Regions from separate parts of the Homo sapiens genome. Here region 1 is linked to region 2. Evidence: promoter capture Hi-C in 16 types of primary human blood cells and fetal thymus (Javierre and others, 2016). All regions are on one chromosome and are shown on one strand. Each heading gives the region's core, a stretch centred on a gene start or on the middle of the fragment in contact. The rest is flanking DNA. Distances are from core to core; before and after follow the strand shown. Region 1 holds the start of DENR (density regulated re-initiation and release factor). Region 2 holds the start of CLIP1 (CAP-Gly domain containing linker protein 1).

Evidence for each region. Contacts are between HindIII fragments. The CHiCAGO score rates a contact against its expected background, and 5 or more counts as called.
Region 1: a contact is called between a fragment that was not itself captured here and the fragment with the promoter of CLIP1 in region 2, in 1 of 17 cell types (naive B cells). The highest score is 5.2, in naive B cells.

Annotation. Positions count from the first base shown.
Region 1 is chr12:122,751,930-122,755,479 of GRCh38, forward strand. DENR (density regulated re-initiation and release factor) reads left to right here and starts at 895. Exons shown (of 8, transcript NM_003677.5): 1 at 895-1,021; 2 at 1,764-1,878. The coding sequence starts at 1,773. RefSeq lists enhancers at 1-252, 1,344-1,403 and a silencer at 1,154-1,203. The HindIII fragment of the contact is 184 bases long and covers 2,083-2,266 here.
Region 2 is chr12:122,421,200-122,424,624 of GRCh38, forward strand. CLIP1 (CAP-Gly domain containing linker protein 1) reads right to left here and starts at 1,470. Exons shown (of 26, transcript NM_001247997.2): 1 at 1,322-1,470. RefSeq lists silencers at 767-1,166, 1,187-1,536 and an enhancer at 2,646-2,745. The HindIII fragment of the contact is 15,249 bases long and covers 1-2,018 here.

The DNA.
Region 1 (3,550 bases), core at 925-3,424, 330 kb after region 2:
GGCGGGAGGATCCCTTGAGTCCGGGAGTTCGAGACCAGCCTGGACAGCATAGGGAGATTCCCCCACCTCTATAAACAAATTAAAAATTAGCTGGGTGTGGTAACGCGCGCCTGTATTCCCAACTACTTGGGAGGTCGAGGCTGCAGTGAACCGTGTTTGTGCAACTGCACTCCATCCAGCCTAGGTGACAGAGTGAGACCCTGTCAAAACATAAAGAAAAGGATGAAGGAAGGGAGGGAGGAAGGAAGGAAGGGAGGGAGGAAGGAAGGAAAGAAGGAAGGAAGGGAGGGAGGGAGGGAAGGGGAAGAAAGAGACAGAAAGAAGAGAAAGAAGAAAGAAAAGAAAGAACAGAAAAGAAAGAAAAAAGAATTCCTTTAATTTAGTGTATGGTGTTAAAACGCAACCAAACGCTCCATCCGGCGAAGAGAGAGAGAAAAGAAGAGAGGAAGGAAAGAAGGAAGGGAGGGAGGGAGGGAGGGAGAACACCTTCCTTTAATTCAGTGCATGGTGTTAAAATGCGACCAAACGCTCTATCCGGCTGCAATCTCCCCGCACGGGAGTGATTTATGCAGTAGCTGGAGGTTAGTCAGGACTCCAGGATGCACCGCAGACACCGAGGCGATGATCCTCGGACTCATTAATAGGGAGTCATTTGTGACTCAGGTGCGCTCTCTGCGTCTGCAAGTCACGTTCCCTTCGGCACGCCCATCTCGAGGATTCATCCTCTCCAACGGGTGACGAGCACCGCCTGCCGGCGGCCCGCCTCTCGGCCTCTTGGCCACGCCCCCCACCGGAGGGCAAGGCGCACGCTCCGCAATTTTTCTCCGCCCCCGTCTTCCGGCTTCTCGCGACATCCGCCCAGCGGCGGCCGGAATCTCGCGATAAAGGCTCATTGTCTCGCGGGAGCGCTGCTGGCGGTCGGGCGCTCGGGCGGCCCTGGCCGGGGAGACGAGTTGCATGTGTTGGTTCAGCTGGCGATAGCGGCGGGAGCGGAGCCGGCGGGGCCTGTGCGACCGCCTGGGTAACGACCCCAAGTGCTTCTCCCGCTCCCGAGAAGCTCGTAGAGAGTGTGGGGGAAGCTGAGATGCTGCCTGGCGGAAGGGGGCCGGGCCGGGCCTCTCCACACCCCCGCCCACAAGGGCCCCTTCTGGCGTCCCCGGGGTTGCTCCTTCGCCTCAGACCTGGTCGCCCTTGTCCCCTCAGTGCTCTTACATTCTGCGCTCGTTTTCTCTCCTCATCCTTCTTACGCTCTGGTTACCCCGCCCCCTCCCATGCCCTTTTTAGACTCCCCAGGCCCCTCTCATGGCGTTTAGTTGCCCCCACACCCTGCACCCCGGGCTTCTCCGATGACCCACCCCTTGTTCCTAGGCACTTCCAGCCTCTCTCCATTCGGCGCCTTTGTAGCCCTTCTCTCACTGCAGTTTGCATCCCTCCCAGATCACCCTCAGACCTTTTTGCTCCGTGTCTGCCGTGGGTACTCACCCCATCTTTCCTTCCCCATTGCTTCCTGTTTTTCTCTAGTGAGTCCCTCTGCCCCATCCTTCATGGTCCATTTGCTGCTTGCTTCCCTGTAGACCTGTGGAGCAAGGAGATGTTGTGCCTGGGATTGCTCATATTTTATGAATCGAATGCAGCTTGTATCCCCCACTCAACAACAGACTTGAAACAGCTTTGGGGTGGGGAGGTTTCTGTTGAGAGGAACACTGCTCTTCTGGGGTCTTGATTCTAAAATAGTGAGGGTGTGTTATTTTCCTTGCTTACAGGTTTGTGAAATGGCTGCTGACATTTCTGAATCCAGCGGGGCTGACTGCAAAGGAGACCCAAGGAACAGTGCCAAGTTAGATGCCGATTACCCACTTCGAGTCCTTTATTGTGGAGGCAAGTGTTGGTAGCCACAGAATGACTTTTACTCACTATACTTTTATGCATTGTAATAACAGTTTGACATTTGGTAAGCTTTCTTCCCCATCCTTTTCATTTGGTGAGTTTGTACTGGGGGAGAGGAGTCCTGGGGAGGAGGAGGCATGAATTAACAGAGTTTCCCCACCTGGGTGATTTGTGTCTGGCTACTCTGCCTGAAGAAGCTTACAGTCCATTTGTAACAGGATGTGCAACTAGGTTATTTCAGCCTGAAGGTCCTCAAGGTGTATGCTAGTCTAGCTGTCAAAGGAGGGCTTCTTGGAAGATTATGAGTTAAGGATGGCAAGGACTGGATGAGAAGGTGGGGAACGGCGTCCCAGACAAAGCGCACGACTATGTAAGAAAAAGCTTGATGGCTGTCTGTGAAGAAGTGAGCAGCTTTGAGTTTGTCTGGTGTATCGTATAGGGAGGGTGGCCCGTTAAGGAGTGGGAGAAGGTGAGGTTGGAGTGTTGGGTGGTAGGACAGTGAGGAAAGTCTTCTTGGTTTGAATCATGATATATGTATTAGGTTTAATCAAGATCTTTTTCACTTTCGAGTGTTTTTCTTCATTTTCAATATAGAAATATTTGTGAATTGTAAATGCTGTATGTATTCGCATCTTGGAAACTTTCAGAAAAATCTGAAGATACAGGACAGTAAAAGGGCAAGTAAATATTTTTTCAGTAAATATTTCTCAGAACTTACTGTGTGCCTAGTGATGTTTTAGGTGCTGGGGCCTGAGTAGTGAATAAGTCAGAAGATCCTTGTTCACGTGGACCTTACATTCTGTGACTGCAGTAGAGACCACATCTGACATTTAAGTACCGTAGAAGGAGAAATGATATCTTTTTGCCATTAAAAGTAATGGCAAAAACTGCAGTTACTTTTGCACCAACCTAATCATTTTTTGAGCAGGAAAATAAAGTGACAAGAGATTAATATGCTGCATTATTTGGAGGAAATAGAACCCACAAATTTGAAGGCCACTTTCAGAAATCTAGGTTTGAGGTAAATAAGTGCCTTGCTGAGAGTGTAAGCAGTATAAAAGTGAATAAAGAGGGTTAATCAAAGAAAAGATACAATGTTTAATGGTGAAAAAGGAAAAAGATATTTCACAATTGAGAGAGTTGAAAAACCAGAACACCACTAAAAATGATGACTTTGAGAAAGATTAGATTTGGAGATAGATAATAGGCTGACTTGCAATACAGTGAATTTGAGTTTCTCCAAATGGAAGAATCCAAGTATGCTGCATTTGGCAGCAGAGAGAGACAGTATATGAGCTTTTCTAAGGGAGAAAGAGAGAAAAGCCAGAAAGATTCTTGGGGTGTACCTGGAACGAGGTGAACTGGGTAGATTTCACCACATAGAGAATTGCTTAGTTGGTGAGAAGTTTGGAAGCTTAGTGAAAATGTCAGTCTCTAGAAATCTTGTTTTATTTTTCTGTAATTATGAATTAAAACTAAGGGGCCGGGCGCAGTGGCTCACACTTGTAATCCCAGCACTTTGGGAGGCTGAGGCAGGCAGATCATGAGGTCAGGAGTTCAAGACCAGCCTGGCCAACATAGTGAAACCCCGTCTCTACTAAAAATACAAAAACTTAGCCAGGCCTGGTGGCAGGCACCTGTAATCCCAGCTACTTGGGAGGCT
Region 2 (3,425 bases), core at 220-2,719:
ATAAAAAGCTAGCCCAGAGCCTGGCCACAAGATGCCTTCAATAAATGTTCATTGTTATAATTTACAGAGAAAAAAAGGCCCCAAGTCTGAGAAGCGACATGCCTGGGGATTCTTGCTAAAGGTTATCATTAAATCTAAAAGTCAAACAAACACATTCCTGACTCTGGGATACTCTCCTGATTCGTGGATACCATCGCTAACAGTAGTGACACAAATCAAATAATAAGAACAGCCAGAATCATAACCCTAATGACAGCAGTGGCCACAGCACTTAATACTTATAGAGCTGCTAGGGGCCACTGTCCTAAAAGAGGAAGAAGGCCAGGCTGCTGAATCACACACACACAATTACAGAATCTTCTCCACCCTTTGTTTTAAAAAACAGTTCACTGGCGCCCAAGTTTTGCTAAAAACAGGTATCTAAACCGATGACGGACAACGTGTAATTTCTTCATACCAAAGAGGTGGGGCTGTGCAGGGAGGAGGGGGTGGCGCTCGGCTCCTGCCAGATGGAAAAGCCACATGAAGTGGAGAAACAGCCGGATTCAGGATTCACCCCCGAATCAAAACCCGATTTTTGAAAGGCAGGACCTTCCAATTCGGGCAATCGCTAGGTTCTGCTTGTAAAATAACCTCTGAACAAGTGTCATCTGCCTTCCGCGCCAATCCCCTGCCGCGGTAGAAGGTTCGGATTACCGGGCAGCGGTGTGATTTCGGAAACCCGAGAGCGATCTGGCCACCTCCAGCCTTCCCCGGTCTCCGAGAATCACAGCCCCACTTGAGAGGAAAACAAAAGCCGGGGCAGCGGGGGAGGCCGGGCCAGGGTGCCCTCCATGCCGGATCGCGGGCGCCGGGCACCCGGGGCCTGAGGAATGCTCAGGTGACAGGCGCGGCGCCCGGGGCAACAGGTCCCGCCCGGCTTCGGCCTCCCGGGGTCCGGCCGATCCCACATCCGCCCCGGGGCCCAGGAGAGGGAGCGGGGCGCCAGGGAGAGAGCGGCGCCTGGGGCGGCGCAGGGGCAAGGAGTCCAAGCTCCATCTTGAGGCGGGCGGAGGAAGCGAAGGCCCGGCTCGGCGCTGACAGGGCCGCCACTTTTCCAGCTCCGGAGGAGCCCCCCAGGGACCCCCGGCCTCCGGCGCCGGCCACCCGAGACTCCCGCGGTCCCCTCCCGGACGGCTCCGGCGCGCGAGGCTCGGCCCCGCTCCCGGACGCCGGGCTTCGACCCCCGACCCGACCCTGGGCGGGCCCCGCAGGCCGGGAAGCCGGCAGGGGAGCAGGGGGTGCCGGGAAAGGGAGAGGGCCCGCGCCGCCCCCTGCTCACCTCCTCGGACGCCGCCGGTCGCCGCCACCTGTCCCACTGCAGCAGCAGCAGCCGCCGCGGCCGCCGCCTCCCGCCTCCCGGCTCGTCGGCTCGGGGCGGGGGAGAGCGTGACGCGCCGCCGCCGCCGCGGGGCCGGGCGGGCGCGCGCTGCCAGGAGAAGACGCCGCGCGGCTCCTCCCAGCGCTCCGCCGCCGCGCCCGCCCGGCCGGCCCGGCCGGCCCGGCCCCTCGAGTCCGCACCGGCCCTGCGGCCCGCGCCCGGCCCCGCGCCGCCCCGCCGCCTCTTTGTCTGCGCCCACCGCGGCCCCGGGAGGACCCTGGCCCCGGCGCGCCCGCCGCTCCGCCCTCGAACCCTCCCGAGCCCCGGCTTGGGGAGCAAGGTGCGAGGGAAAACCCACAGGCCTGCTCCGAGGGGCTTCTCGTCATTTCTGCAAAGTGTTCCCAGAATTTGCAAGTCACACCCAAGAGCCCCATTCAGCCTCGACCTCAGCCCGCTCTTTGGGGCTGATTCATTTGTTTGCCCTCCCCTTCCCGCCAGACAAGGGTGAGAAATCCTTTGAAACAGGCTGCAAGGCGCTTCCGAAGCAGGTTAAGTTGGGGATTGGGAAGGATCATCTCTGCCCTCGCCTCCCTCCAGGGAAAGACCCTGGATGAGGCGTCCCTGGAGAAAATGCTGAAAGGAACTGTAGAGCAGGTTAAGCTTGGGAAGAACTGTATCTGCTCCCCACTTCCCTCCGGGAACGACCGCGGGTTAAAAATCCTTTGAAACGATCCCAGGGTTTGCTCCGTTCGTTTGAGAAAAGCCCCTTTTATTCGCCCTGGCTGCTTGGACGGAAGCCCTGGTTAGTGTCCCATCCTCCTTCCCCCCTGGGATTTCCTTTAAAAGCTTTTGAAAGGGACAGGAGGGAAGGCTGCAACAGCCTGCTCGGGGCTGGGGTAGCAGAGGGCGGCCAGCATTTCACTCCCATGGACCATGGCAACCCCAGAAGCCTTACATCTCCAGGGAGGAATTTGCAGCTGTCGGGGAAGCCCAGGATTTTGTGGTGGATAAGGGGGCAGGGGCTTCCTCCTCCTTGCCAGTAGAAGAGAATAATCGGCGGGTGACCCCTCTAGCTGACCTTTATTCAAAGCACCGTGCTGCCTGGACCAGCAGGAAGAGGGAACTGCTCTGGTAATGCACGAAGTTCTGAACTATGTAAATTTGTCTCCTGGCCCCTCCTCTCCATTCATGTCTGAAATCCCTCGAAATGCTGTTACCTAATTCAACATCGCCCTAATTTACAGGCTGCAAGGTCAGGTGGTGGTGGTACTCCTGAAATCCCATATCCATATTCCTAATCTGAAAGGCGCGCCTCACCCCCTAATCTAAACAGTCTTCAGCTGTAATCAGCAAGCTGTGGAATCATAGATGTCATAGGATGAGGCACAGACCACTTCTAATGGGGGAGTTCAGCTAGGAACACTTATGGGCTTGTCTTTTCTTCTCTACTCAGTAGGCTGAGCCTGTCTTTATTAAAAATATTGTTTTGGGGCTGGGTGTGGTGGCTCACGCCTGTAATTCTAGCACTTTGAGAGACCCAGGTGGGTGGATCACCTGCAGACAGGAGTTCAAGACCAGCTTGGCCAACATGGTGAAACCCCGTCTCTAACAAAAAATACAAAAATTAACTGGGCATGGTGGTGCATGCCTGTAGTCCCAGCTACTCGGGAGGCTGAGACACGAGAATTGTTTGAACCCGGGAGGCGGAGGTTGCTGTGACCAGAGTTCAAGCCACTACACTCCAGCCTGGGTGCCGGAGGGAGACTCTGTCTCAAAAAATATATATATATATACACATGTATATATATATGTATATATATGTGTGTGTGTGTGTGTGTGTATATTTGCTTGTTCTCATGGGTTATTCTATGTCATTGTCATGTTCATCATTTGCTTATTTATTTATAATTATATCATTTTGTTCATCATGGAGTCTTGGCGTTAATTTTTTTTTTTTTTTTTTTTTTTGAGATGGAGTCTCACTCTGTCGCCCAGGCTGGAGTGCAGTGGTGCGATCTCGGCTCACCGCAAGCTCTGCCTCCCGGGTTCACGCCATTCTCCTGCC